3 separate regions of the Homo sapiens genome follow, and all the other regions are linked to region 3. The links are contacts of gene promoters, found by promoter capture Hi-C in human tissues and cell types (Jung and others, 2019). All regions are on one chromosome and are shown on one strand. Each heading gives the region's core, a stretch centred on a gene start or on the middle of the fragment in contact. The rest is flanking DNA. Distances are from core to core; before and after follow the strand shown.

Region 1 (4,498 bases), core at 529-3,028, 47 kb after region 3:
TATTCAAGCAACTTTCCATATTTTTGATAATTATAGTCTTCTACCAAATGTCTTTGGTGAATGCTATTATCATCGTCACATTGAAAAATTAAGAGAAATAATACATTAAACTATTAGAATCAGGAGACTTGCTCAAAGGATGTTAGCCTTTCCGGTCATGTGTTTCTATGGTGCTTACCTACGTGATTTAAATTCCAGACAACTATACCCTCATTTCCACCTCCACTACCAGTATTCACCAATTATAAGTGGTAAAACTTCAGTAGTGGTCATTAAATAATCTCCACTAAATGGGTAAAGTGTGTCATTTGTGATGTCACTTTAAAATGATATTTGGTATGAATCTCTGTCTTTGGGAATCCTTAGTCCAATATATTTTTTTAAATGTTCCTTTTTTCTCTGTATATCTAAAATAAAACAAAACTGGTTAGGCTGCTTTTGTTTTCTTGGAGTGAGAAACCACAAGAATGCACAACTCAACAGAATTTTCTCAAAGCAGCTCAAAATTCTCTCTCAGATTAATGGCAATGGGGCAGAAGACTTCAGTGGAAATGGTAATTTTAGGAGTTGTACAACTTATCATAGAACTTGATGGTTGTGAAGGTGGTTTGTTTTATGCATGGCATATGGGATCTGTTGATGAGTTTGGCATTGATGCCAGTAAACCAGAAAGAGACTTTGGATTAGTCGTTAGTGGCTGTCCCTCCAAATACCAAAGAATTGGAAATCCAAATTTCAAAGTTGTAGAAGAGCATAAAGAATGAGTATTTTCAACTGATGCTCAGTTACAATGACTAGAAAATATTTAAATGGATTGATGTGTTTCTTTTTTCAAAAATTTTTTGTAGCATCTTTGATGTACTAAAACGAAACAAACTGTTATATTTCAGCATTTTGGAAGCTGATTTTAAAATTCAGGTGTATTTTAAGAAAAATTTGTATGCGTACTTAAAATTTCTTCCCACATTACTCATCAAAACAATGTTCCGAAGTAGCTAAAGCTGTGTTTACATCATCTTCAGGGATTTGGGCTGTTGAAAGGAATAAAAGAATGTCACCAGGGCAACTATCTACACAGGGAGGGGGATTCAGGAACAAAATTTTACATGAATAAAGAAATAGCACAAAAGCCAATAGTATTTTGGTGTAAGAATATTCCCATTACTGGGGGAGGGGTTACCATAACAGAAGTAAAAACACTGGGAATATAATAGTAGCTCTAATTATGAAGTGCTAAATATTAACTCATTTAATCTTCACCACATTCCCTTGATGTAGGTACTACTTTTATGCAATTTTTACAGGTGAGAAAACTGAGATTTAGTTTGGCCCAGGGTTGTATAATGAGAGCTAAATCTCAAATCCAGCAATCTGAGCCCTTAAGCGTGGGTAGATAAAAGTTTAATATTTTTCTTCTGGGTTGTTTTACCTTTAATATTTTAGAGTCATTTTGTATAATTAAATAGGTAGGACTGAGTTGAAGTTTAAACAAAGACTTCACTCACTTTTCTGAAATATATCAGTATTTTTTCAACTGCTTCTATTCCTAGCATATTATTTGTACATGCTTTATCTCTACAGCTGAAGCTCGTATGAGGAATTTCCTAAATGTTAGTTATTTTTATATTCCTTATTGTCTGTTTTCTCTATGTATTTCTCATCACATACTTTCATATAATGATGACTGAAATATTTTCAAAAACAATGATGAATTAGTGGAGATATGTTATTTAAGGAGAATTTGAGATCTAACATGATGGGTTTAAAATAATAAGGTTTTCTTTAAAACCTTTAAAATCTTAAATTGTTTTCAGGGTTAAATACTATTTAACATTCCTAAGTTTATAGTTCAGTATAAATCCCTTAAGCGGTGACATTCAACTTGGTCAAATATATTTTCTACATCATTTGTTACAAGTTTACCTGCCTGGTCTAGGTATGCTTGTGAATACGAAATGAATAAAAAAATTTTCCTTTTGAGAATAAATACGTTGAATACAGACTAGATCATGCGAAAATTTAGAATTTTTCAGTCTTGAACAATATATGTAATTAAGTTTAGACCCTAGTGATTTATTAGTTGAAAATTATGGCAGTAATAATCTAGAACAAATAAACACAAAGCCTTTTAGATTTTTTTATATGCACTGCACAATTATTAAGCTTTTTAATTGATCTAAATTAGAGTTACTATTGTTGTATTAAAGTATATTGGGGAGTTTTTATTTTTTGACACTGTATTCTTGATTTTTATAATAGAAGATTTATAACAGTAAAATGATTGGAATCACATTAGGTCATTGGACACCTGAATCCATAGATAGTCCACTCTTGAGAAAAGAAATTAATTATTTCTAAGTCACTTAAAACTCAGAAGAACTAACTGTATACCTTTTCCAGTTGTGATTGAATTAGGGAAGGAGTAGTCATTTAGCTGCTACAAACCAGTTTTGGAAACACTATTTATCGTGTTATAGTTACTAAAGAAGACTTTTTACAAAATTGCAAATCTTTGTTGATAGTTTTTGGCTCCAAAACAAGTTTTTGATTGCTGACAAACCTAACCCCATCCCCCACGACACACGCACACCTCCCCCCACACAATTTTAAATAAGAATTTATGTAAAAACTTTGAAGGCTCTGAAACTATCTGAAAAACATCTGAATGATATCAACCTGTAGATTTGCACCATTCTTTCGTGCTGAAAGAACTCTGACTTGTGAAACAAGTCTCTGGGCCACTCTTTCAAGAAAGCTTTATTGTAAGTACACCACAGTGTCTGATTTCTAATCTTTGACTTGCCTATTTCTCTGACTAGACTGTCACTTGAGGGCTGAGAGTGAGTCTTAACCACTGTCTTTTCTGAGCCGTGTCAAGCCTATTGCATGGTAGGTGCAAAATACATAATAGATGAATGAATGAATGAATGAATGAATGAATGAAATGAATTATCCTTTCATTTCATCTTTCCTGATTTGTTTACAAATAATATACATAGGTTGTTCTACGCAGATGATGGCACTCTGATATCAGGGTTACTTAAAGGTATAACAAGCTTTACCATAAGGGATATAAAATTAAATGAGCCAAGGATTTTGCCGTTGGTGTTATGGTGGTGAGAGTAGGGTTTGAGTGTACAGAGGAGAATTTCAGGTAAAGCAGACATCAAACCATGGGTTTGTGAAGGTGCCTGGCATATGCAGAATTGGGTGAGAAAATCAGGTAGGCTATAACACAGGAGGTTTGGTGGAGAGTGACAAGAAAGAATGGTAGATAATGTGTTGAAGCTAGGTTATTATGGGTCTGAAATACCAAGGTGAGGCTTTTAGACTGTGGAACAAAGGAAATCAATGACAAGACAAGAAGAAATTGAAATAAACAAAATTCTGAATATGGCAGGAAGTCTTACTTGGAAAAATGCTTCAAGGGCTGGGCGTGGTGGCTCATGCCTGTAATCCCAGAACTTTGGGAAACGAAGGCAGTCAGATTGCCTGAGGTCAGGAGTTCAACACCAGCCTGGGCAACATGGTAAAACCCCTTCTCTACTAAAAATACAAAAAAATTAGCTGGGCATGCTAGCACGCACCTGTAATCCCAGCTACTTGGGAGGCTCAGGTAGGAGGCAGAGGTTCCAGTGAGCTGGGCTCTGAGATTGTGCCATTGCGCTCTAGCCTGGGCAATAGAGCAAGACTCTATCTCAAAAAAAAAAATGCTTCAAGGTCCTCATGAAGTATTTTGAAATGCTAACTGTACACAAAGAGTCCCTTGAGCGTGATGAGAAATGTATGTTAAGACTGTTGTTTGGCTCTCTTGATTTGGGTACCAGGCAAGCTTTTGGAGGGAAAGCTTTCTTTACAAAAAGTGAAAATGACCATTTGGAGGAGGTGTTTCAAAAAAATTCTTTCAGGAGGTCATGATTCCTCTAGAGAAAACGTATGTTTGCTTTTGTACAATAAACATATATTAACCTAATAAATAAATACAGGTCATTGTGTAGACCTTGGTCAAACTCTTTGCTCTTAGTTCTCTTTACTTTCTGACAAAATTGACCTTCCAAATTTGTTTACTCTTAAAATGTGACCTGGAACATCCATCATATAAAATTATTACTGCTAAACTGAAGGAAATGCAGATTGATCTATATCAAAGCAAAACCGTTATAGTGAAAGTATGGCCATCTTCCTGAATCTCTTAAAAAACACAAATATTTGTGGATTGCCTACTGTGTACCAAGCTTTTAATAGTTTTATGGTTTCTTCCATCTCTGTGAGCATATCTATTTTTTTTGATATTTAATGAATGAGTGAATGGAGGATGAATGTCAAAGTGGAGCTATTGCAAAAAAGGGGAGATTTTATCATATTATTTTGTAGCTTCTTTCTTCTTTTTTTCCTCCCACACTCTTTTCCAGATTCCCTTCCTCTCTGCCTTTCCTTCCTCTTCCCTTCCTTTCTTTCTTATTCTCAAATCAACATCTCCTGATACAATATGACAATG
Region 2 (4,251 bases), core at 791-3,290, 58 kb before region 3:
TAAGCATACTCCTCCCACTCCCTGTTTCTCCTACTGAATGTAGTTACAGAACTAGGGCAGAATGCACAGAGCAGCTCTTAAAAAAAGTAGATAGTAGCAAATGAATTTTTAAAAAATCAGAATCAAAATACCACTAGAAAGGCTGTAGTGTACTGTGTTTCCCTCTATTATGTCTACTGGCCTGTACCCCACTCATCTGAAACCCACAAGTAGACTTCTGCATGGACAGAGAGTTCCAGGACAAGCTCTCTGGTTTACATTCAAGGAATGGGAAACGGGTCCCCACAACAGCGATGGCAGCAGAGACATGAAGACATCTAATATCCTTTCAGACGAGCTGTGGCTCTTTCTGGGGAGCTGCGGTATAAGTGATATAGTTTGTGTGTCGTCCCTGCCCAAATCTCATGTAGAAATATTATCCCCCATGTTGGAGGTGGAGCTGGCGGGGGATGACTGGAGCATGGGGGCAGATTTCTCCTTTGGTACTTTCCTCGGCATAGTGAGTGAGGTCTCGTGAGGTCTGGTTGTTTAAAAGTGTGTGGCACCCCACAATTCTTGCTCCTGCTCCCTCCATGTGAGATGCCTTCCTCCCTTTTTCCTATGATGGTAAGTTTTCCTGCAGCCTCCCCAAAAGCTGAGCAGATGCTGGCATCATGCTTCCTGTACAGCCTGCAGAACAGTGATCCAATTAAACTTCTTTAAATAAATTACCCAATCTCAGGTACTTCTTTATAGCAATGTGGGACCTGACTAATACAAGGACGTTGGGAATAAAACTCTACTTCTTTCTCTCCTTTTCTGTCCTCTGCCCCTTGGCTGCAGACATGAGTGCATTTCAGGAAAGTATACAGCAGAAGAAGAGAAATAAAGCTCCAGTTTTTGGCCCAAGGCTATAAAGGGGAACAAATGTACCAGGGACATTATGGAGCTCAAAAAAGTGACTCAGTAAAGTTGTTTATTGTGCTCACCCCGAGTTGCATACGCATAGCTCTAATTTCTCAGAAACTGTAAATTCTCAAAACTTACCTAAGACTAAATAGAAAACTTGTATAGTTCTATTACTATTAAATAAATTGAATTCATAGTTTGAAAACATCCTCAAAAGTAAAGCATCTGGCTAGATAGTTTCACTAGTGAAATCTACTGGATATTTAAATGAGAAATAGCATCAATTCCACTCAATTTCTTTCAGAACATAGAAGAGAAAAGAGCACATTCTAATTTATTTTATAAGGCTAGCAGTTCTCTGATAAAAGCATATAAAGACAATACAAGAAAACTTCAGGCCAATATATCTCATGAAAATAGATGTAAAAATACTCAACAAAATATTTTGAAATAAAATTCAGCAACATAAAAAGAAGGCTGTATCAGAAGTAAGTGCAGTTTGTTATGGATATGCAATACTGGTTCAACAACTGAAAATCAGTCAATGAACTCCATCACATTAACTGTCTAAAAAAAGATCAAATCAATTGATGTGGAAAAGGCATTTTAATAAAATGTGTAAAACTCTGAGCAAACTAGAACTAGAAGGAATTTTCTCAGCCTGATAAAAGTTATCTATAAGAATACCTATAGTTGGCACTATTCTTAATTATGAAACAATGAGTTCTTTCCTCCTAACATCAGGAATGAAACAATGATGTCCACCATTCTCACTACTCCATTTCACAATATTATTATAAACACTGGCGAGTTCAATAAGGCAAGAGAAATGAAAATTCTACAGACAGGAATGGAAGAAATAAAACTTTCTTTATGTACAAATTATATTATTGTCTGTAGAAAATCCCAAGGAATATACTAAAAAAGAAAAAAAACCCTCCTAGATATAATTGGACCAAGTAAGTAAGTTGTGAGTTTACCAAGGTCACAAGATACAAGATTATCACACGATAGAAATTTTACTTATATAGTATAACAAGAAACAACTGGAAACTGATATTTTAAAAAAGTGTCAGTTACAGGAACTCTTCCCAAGCAACATACTTAGGTATAAACATAATAAAACATGTACAGGATCCTTATATTAAGAACTATAATACACTGCTGAAAAATAGATCAATGAAAACTTCTAATAAGTAGAGAGAGAGACTGCTCAGGCATTCAAAGACTCAAATTAGAAAAAAATGTCAATTTTATTGAATTAGGTCTAGAGATTTATGGTAATTCCAATCAAAATTCCCACAATAATTTTTATAGATGTGGACAAGCTTGTTATAAACTTGATGTGGGAAAGGAAGCAGAATAGTCAGAAAAATTTTGAAAGCTCCAATAATTAAGAGTCTTGGGTATTGGTAAAGGGATTGACACTTAGATAAATTAATTACAATAGATATTTCAGGCATAGACTCATACAGACATGGTCAATTGATTTTTGACAACTGTGCAAAAGTAATTCAATGGAGAAAAGGTAATCTTTTCAACAAATGGTGCTCAAACAAATTGATGGCTTTGAGCAAAATAAATAAATAAATCTTGACATTCATCACATTTTATACAATAATTATTTCAGAAAAGATTATAGATTTAAATGTAAAAAAATATAAATATTCTAGTAGAATAGGAGAAAATTTTTATAACCTAAGAACAGGTCTCAGAATACTTACATGTGACAACAAAATCAAAATCCATTACATAAAATCTTGATAAATTGGACTTCATGGAAACGAAAAACTTTGCTCCATAAAAGATAAAATAAGAGAAACTAGTCTGGCACAAAATATTTGCAGTTTATCTGACAAAGCATTTATGTTCAGATTATATAAAGAATACTTAAAGTTCACAAGAAAACAATGATTTTTAAAATGAACAAAGAGGATATACAGAAGGCAAATAAGCACACAGAAAGATGTTCAGCATCTCTAGACAATTGGGAAATGAAAATTAAAATCATCATGAAATTCCACTACTCACCTATCAGAATATTCCAAAAAAGCAAAAAGAATCTTCTAGATATAATCAGGTCTGGTAAGTGATTTGTGAGTTTACCAAGCTACCAGCTCTTCATATTGCGAGTAGTTTATATTTTAGCCATTTTAAATTTAAAATAAAAAATAAACTTTGAAATAAAAATGCAACTCGCAATATGAAGAGCTAGCAAAGAGGGGATGAAACTGGAATTATCGTATGTTGGTGGTGGGAATGAAATGTGACACAGCCACTCTAGAAAACAGTTTGCGGTTTACCTAACATTAAACCCACACTTACCCTATTACCTAGAAATCCAATTCCTACATATTTGTCCTAGAAAAATGAAAAGTTACATGCACACAAAATCTATCTGTTAATGTTTATACCAGTTTACTCTATGATCTTTGAACTGAAAATGATATAAATGTCCCCCAGTGGGTAAACAGAAAAACAAATTATGGTATGCCCATACCATGGAATCAGCAATAAAAATAATAAACTATTAAAGCACACAGCAGCATGGGTGAATCTCAAAGTCTTTATACTGAGTGAAAAAAAGCCAGTTTCTGAAGGTTACATACTATATGATTCTATACAACTTCATTTATATGGTGTTCTGGAAAATATGAAATTGTAGTAATAGAGAAGATACCAGGTTTCCAGGCTTTGGAGGTGTAGGGAGCATTTGTTTTTAAGCATAGGGGCTAGGAGAGAAGGCCCTGGAGCAAAACTTCTTGGGTCAAATCCCATCTTGTTCACTTCTGAGCTGTTTCGCCTCGGGACAGTGACCTAAACTTCTTGGTACCTCTGTTTTTCCAGTTGTAAAATGCGGGTGATACAGCATCTACTTTAGAAGATTGTTGTTGAAATGTAAATTGATTAAATCAACGTGGTTTTTAGAGTGTCAAGGAATTAATGTGTGTCTTGACTGGGATGGGATGGTGGTTATAAGACTCCATACGTTAGTTAAAATTCATAGACTTGTACCAAAAATGTGTTTTCTGTGTTAATTAAAAAATAAAATTAAAGTAAATGCTGATGTAGATTACAAACCTCTAAGATGGATATGTTGAGCAAAATTGCTGTACAAGCTTATTTAATGGTTAATTTTTTTTATTTTTGCTGTTTTTGGCTTCATATACTACTGATTAGCACAAAGACTTTTGGCAATACTCCAAGAAAATATTGCAAACTCTTATGAATAGAACGTTTTGAGAACCAATGAGTTAATTTAAAATACATGGAAAATAAAATGACTCCGAAGAATAATTTCAAAATTGTTGGCATTATTGTAGGTAAGTTGTCATAATCTCACTTGAAATGTGTTCACAAGCT
Region 3 (4,209 bases), core at 1,185-3,684:
AGGTGGAACAGTCTCATTCCAAAACCTTCCCCTGTATCCTGTGCCATGCATCTGTGGAAAAACTGTCTTCCATGAAACTGGTCCCTGATGCCAAAAATGTTGGTGTATTAGTTCGTTTTTACACTGATGATAAAGACATAACCGATAATGGGTAATTTATAAAGAAAAAGAGGTTTAATGGACTCACGGTTCTGCGTGGCTGGGGAGACCTCACAATCATGGCGGGAGGCGAAACGCACTTCTCACCTGGAGGCGGTGAGAGAGAGTGGGAACCAAGCAAAAGGGGTTTCCCCTTATAAAACCGCCAGATCTCGCGAGACTGATTCACTACCATGAGAAGGGCATGGGGGAAACCACCCCCACGATTCAGTTATCTCCCACTAGTTCCCTCCCACAACATGTGGGAATTATGGGAGGGAAAATTCAAGATGAGATTTCTATGGGGACCCAGAAGCCATATCATTTGGGGACCACTGGCTTATAATGCCAGTCTGGTCAACATCAAATGTTGGATATAATTTCATATTTTAAAATTCACTACAGATAAATTAGAGTCTATATATATATATATATATACACACACATAAAATTAAGAACAATATCATTTTTTCTTTCAACTATAATATGTCATATTAAGAAACTGCAGTTTTCCCTTTGTGAATAATATTTAAACATCAACATTTTTCTATGGATACCTTCCTTGAACTACATTTTCACAACTGCAAATTGAAAACTTACCTTAAATAATATCAGTTTGCTAATATGTTCAAAATAAATTTGCTTGTTTTATTCAATTTTCTAAAGTTAGGCAATGACTAGTTGACAGGGAATTTCAAATTCTTTCATATGGAAAGACTTGACTTTCAAAAGCCTATGTATTAGGTTGGTGCAAAAGTTATTGTGTTTTCTGCCATTACTTTCAGTGGCAAAAACTGCCATTACTTTTGCATCATCCTAGTAGTTATCTTTGTTCATGTTGAATTGTTGATACTTTCTAGAAGAGAAGCTCTTTTTTAGAGTTAAAAGTCTTATATAAGTTCATCTACTCTCAGCCTGAACCTTTATTATTTTTCATCATATATTATGCAAAATAATTATGTCTTATAAGCACATGAAGTTTATTTTGAGAATCTGATGTTTGGCCCTACTCATTATGGACTTTTGGCTACTTGATGTTAATCTTAAAAGCTGTAGTCAGAAGTCAAAGTTTGAAAGAAAGATAGCTTAGGCAAGTGCATGGAATAGACTAGGCTTAAACTAATGAAATGGACATCCTCCATGAGAAAGCTGAGCCCTCCAGGCTTAGCTGCAAAGTAGAAGGAGAAAAACTGGGATGTGCTCCATTGGTGCCGGTGAGGGGAGGAGGGGAGTCATCAGGGTTTCAGACATTAGAATATTAACTGTAAAGGTTTCTTTCCACACATTTATCTGTTCCATGCACATTTGTGTGCTTATTAGCTGCTTGGCTCTTGGGACATTTGGTGAATAAGAACCGTCCAGAACATGCCTTCAAGAGTTTATAGTCTATTGGAGGAGTCAAACAAACAAACGGATAATAACAGCATACATTAAATAATGGTAAATTAAGAATGCTGCTACGACAAGAGGATAAAGGAGAATATCTGACAGACTCACCTGAGAAAAATTTTTCTCTGCTCAGGTGACTTTAGTCAGAAGCAGAAGTGTTAAAACTATAAAGAACTAGGGGGAGAGACAGCTGTCCTTAACGAGGGGGCAAGAATGGGAATTAAAGAGCCAGTACTGGCAGGTGGACCAATAGACTAGGTGGCTGGAATTCAGGGAGGCAGAGGACGGAGATGATGTTAGAGAGAGACCATGAGACTGGAATGTGCATATTAAATCCTAAAAAAAGAAACACTTTTTTTTTGAAACAAAAGTATTTATACAGCTCTGTTTCCAAATCTGTAAACATCTTTAAGTCTCAATAGTTTATGTGTCATAATAAAACAAGAGTCTTTAAAACGCTTCAAAAGTCAAGTTTTACACTGAGACATTTAAATGAAGAAAACGAGCCCTTTCCCCAAATCTACAACCTACAAGTTAAATGCACTGACCTGTCAGAATCTATGTAAAGAACAATTTTCTAATAAAAGACTGCTTTATCATAAGAAGCATCGTTCCAGGAAATTTCCTTTAATATTCTTATCTGTCACTTTCTATAAAAGTCTTTTTTAAATTAAAAAATCTGATGCTGAAAGCAGCAGAGATCTGAAGTGAGTATATTTAAATACATGTGGGTGATACACACAAGCATGTTCCTCCCAGATCTGCAGGAAGATGAAGCAATGTACGCAATGAATTAAAATGATTGTCACCTAGTGGATTCCGGACACAGGGCAGGCTTTAAGACCCAGCGATAGTATTTGTCTGGAGAGGAAATGTTGCTTTTTGACAGATGAGAGAAATCCCCTTAGTGTTGGCTGTGGGAAGAGAGAAGCGAAGTCAGTCACCTGGTGGTGAAGGCCAGTAAAACAGCGAAGCAGGAGGAAAATTTTTCTCTCCCTCTCTCTTTCTCTCCCTCTTTTTCTCTCCGTTGGATCCACCTCCTATTCCCTCAACTCTTTTAGCATAACCTTCAAAGGAGAACGTTCCCTTCTGACTTGATTATCTTCTTTTCCCCACTGAGAAAATACCTCTCAGCTACAAGACATTTTTTAAGTCTATGCAGGACTTCGGGGATTCTGTTATCTTGCCGGGGAAACTGATCATTGCTAATGCCTGGGACTGGAGCTAAATTACCTACCAGAGTAAGCCTGACGGAGGAAGCCTTTTATCATACACTCTTCTCTTCAGTTTGAACACATTTGCTTGAAATTTGCCGCATGATGCTGACCAGGGAAGCAGCTTTTTTTCTCGGGATGCAGCAATTCGCTGGGTTCTAAGCTTATTGCAGAAGAAGAAATAATCTTAAATAGAGTGGATTTTTTTTTCCTTTTTTCTTTTGGCCCCTGTTTCAATCGACTCAGCTGTGTTGCACCGCGGTAGAGATCACCTGTCACTAAATCTTTGAGGAAGTAAAATAAAGTGAATTATCATTATTATTTATTTATTTTCCTTATTTTTAACCCGGTGGAGGCGGCGTGACCACGGAGAATGAGACTGAGAGGAGCTGCCGGGGCTTGGAGGAGGATAAAGCTGAGTTTAAGCTGGAAACTAAAAGACTAGATTGTTTTTGGGTGCCACTCGCCCGGTTCCTCTCCACTTCGTTTAGTTGCGCTCCATGGACAGATCAACGAACCTGGACATTGAGGAGCTCAAGGTACGTGCGGGTCCGGGCGGGCTTCGCGGCCGCTTCTCGGCGCTCCCTGCTCTCCCCTCTCCTTCCCGCGGCTCCTCCAGCGGCGCGGAGTAGTTGGTGGTCCCGCGGGACGACGAGGGGGCGTTGGGGGGACGCGCACCCGGGCGCAGGCGCCCCTGCTGGGGCCGAGGACACGGAGGGTGGTTCTCCCGAGCCAGGCTGCACTCCCGGGCTGGGCGCCCTCCCCGCCTGCTCCTCCCGCCAGCGGCCACCCCGTCCTCCTCCTGGTCCGTGACGGCAGCATTTGGGGTGCAGACCCTGCGCCTCTTGCCGGCTCGTCTCCCCGGGGGGGGCAGCGGCACCAGCTCTGCCCGCTGTCGCCTGCTTTCCCAGCAAAGTTGTCCGAGCTGCGCCGCCACTTTGCCTCCTCTTCCCGGCTCCGATCCCGCCTGTGCCCCAGCCCGGCACGGGGACAGTGCATTTCCGCTCGGAGATTCGCGTGACAGAGGCATCTGCAACGACAGCCCGTTTTTATCCCAGAACTTCGTGAGACCCCTTTTCCCTCCCACCGCCCGCGGGCAGTGTTTCCTCCCGCAGTTGCAGTGCAGGGGCTGGAGAGGTACCCCCGCTGCCGGGGACGGCTAGCCTGCCCTAGCCCCAGGCGCGGGAGCAGGTCCGGGGACTCGGGCAGGGGGCGGGGAGGCGGGAGCCGGGCTGGTAGGGGCGGCATCTGCGGAGGCTCCGGCCGCACACGGTCTCCCACCAGCCTGGAGCCCCCCGCCGCTCCGCGGGTTCCCCGCGCCGCGCCCTCTCCCTCTGGGGTCCCCTGCTTGGCCGTGAGGGCCTGCCCGGAGGGAGCATCCGGGGTGACAACGCGCCCCTCTGCCTATGGGCACCTCTGCCTGCTTCCCTTCAAGAAAAAAAAATATATATATTTATATACACACAAT

The links. Contacts are between HindIII fragments. The study calls those that stand out against the background at their distance.
Region 1: a contact is called between a fragment that was not itself captured here and the fragment with the promoter of SGCZ in region 3, in 3 of the 25 tissues and cell types used here (adrenal gland, hippocampus and spleen).
Region 2: a contact is called between a fragment that was not itself captured here and the fragment with the promoter of SGCZ in region 3, in 3 of the 25 tissues and cell types used here (IMR-90 fibroblasts, bladder and small bowel).

Annotation. Positions count from the first base shown.
Region 1 is chr8:15,188,781-15,193,278 of GRCh38, reverse strand. The region is part of intron 1 of SGCZ (sarcoglycan zeta); the gene reads left to right. Among named protein-coding and RNA genes, the nearest start is that of SGCZ, 47 kb to the left of the region's middle. The HindIII fragment of the contact is 4,527 bases long and covers 1-4,041 here.
Region 2 is chr8:15,294,513-15,298,763 of GRCh38, reverse strand. No RefSeq gene overlaps it. Among named protein-coding and RNA genes, the nearest start is that of SGCZ, 58 kb to the right of the region's middle. The HindIII fragment of the contact is 5,853 bases long and covers 1-4,251 here.
Region 3 is chr8:15,236,656-15,240,864 of GRCh38, reverse strand. It overlaps SGCZ (sarcoglycan zeta), which reads left to right and starts at 2,434. Exons shown (of 8, transcript NM_139167.4): 1 at 2,434-3,280. The coding sequence starts at 3,242. The HindIII fragment of the contact is 17,338 bases long and covers 1-4,209 here.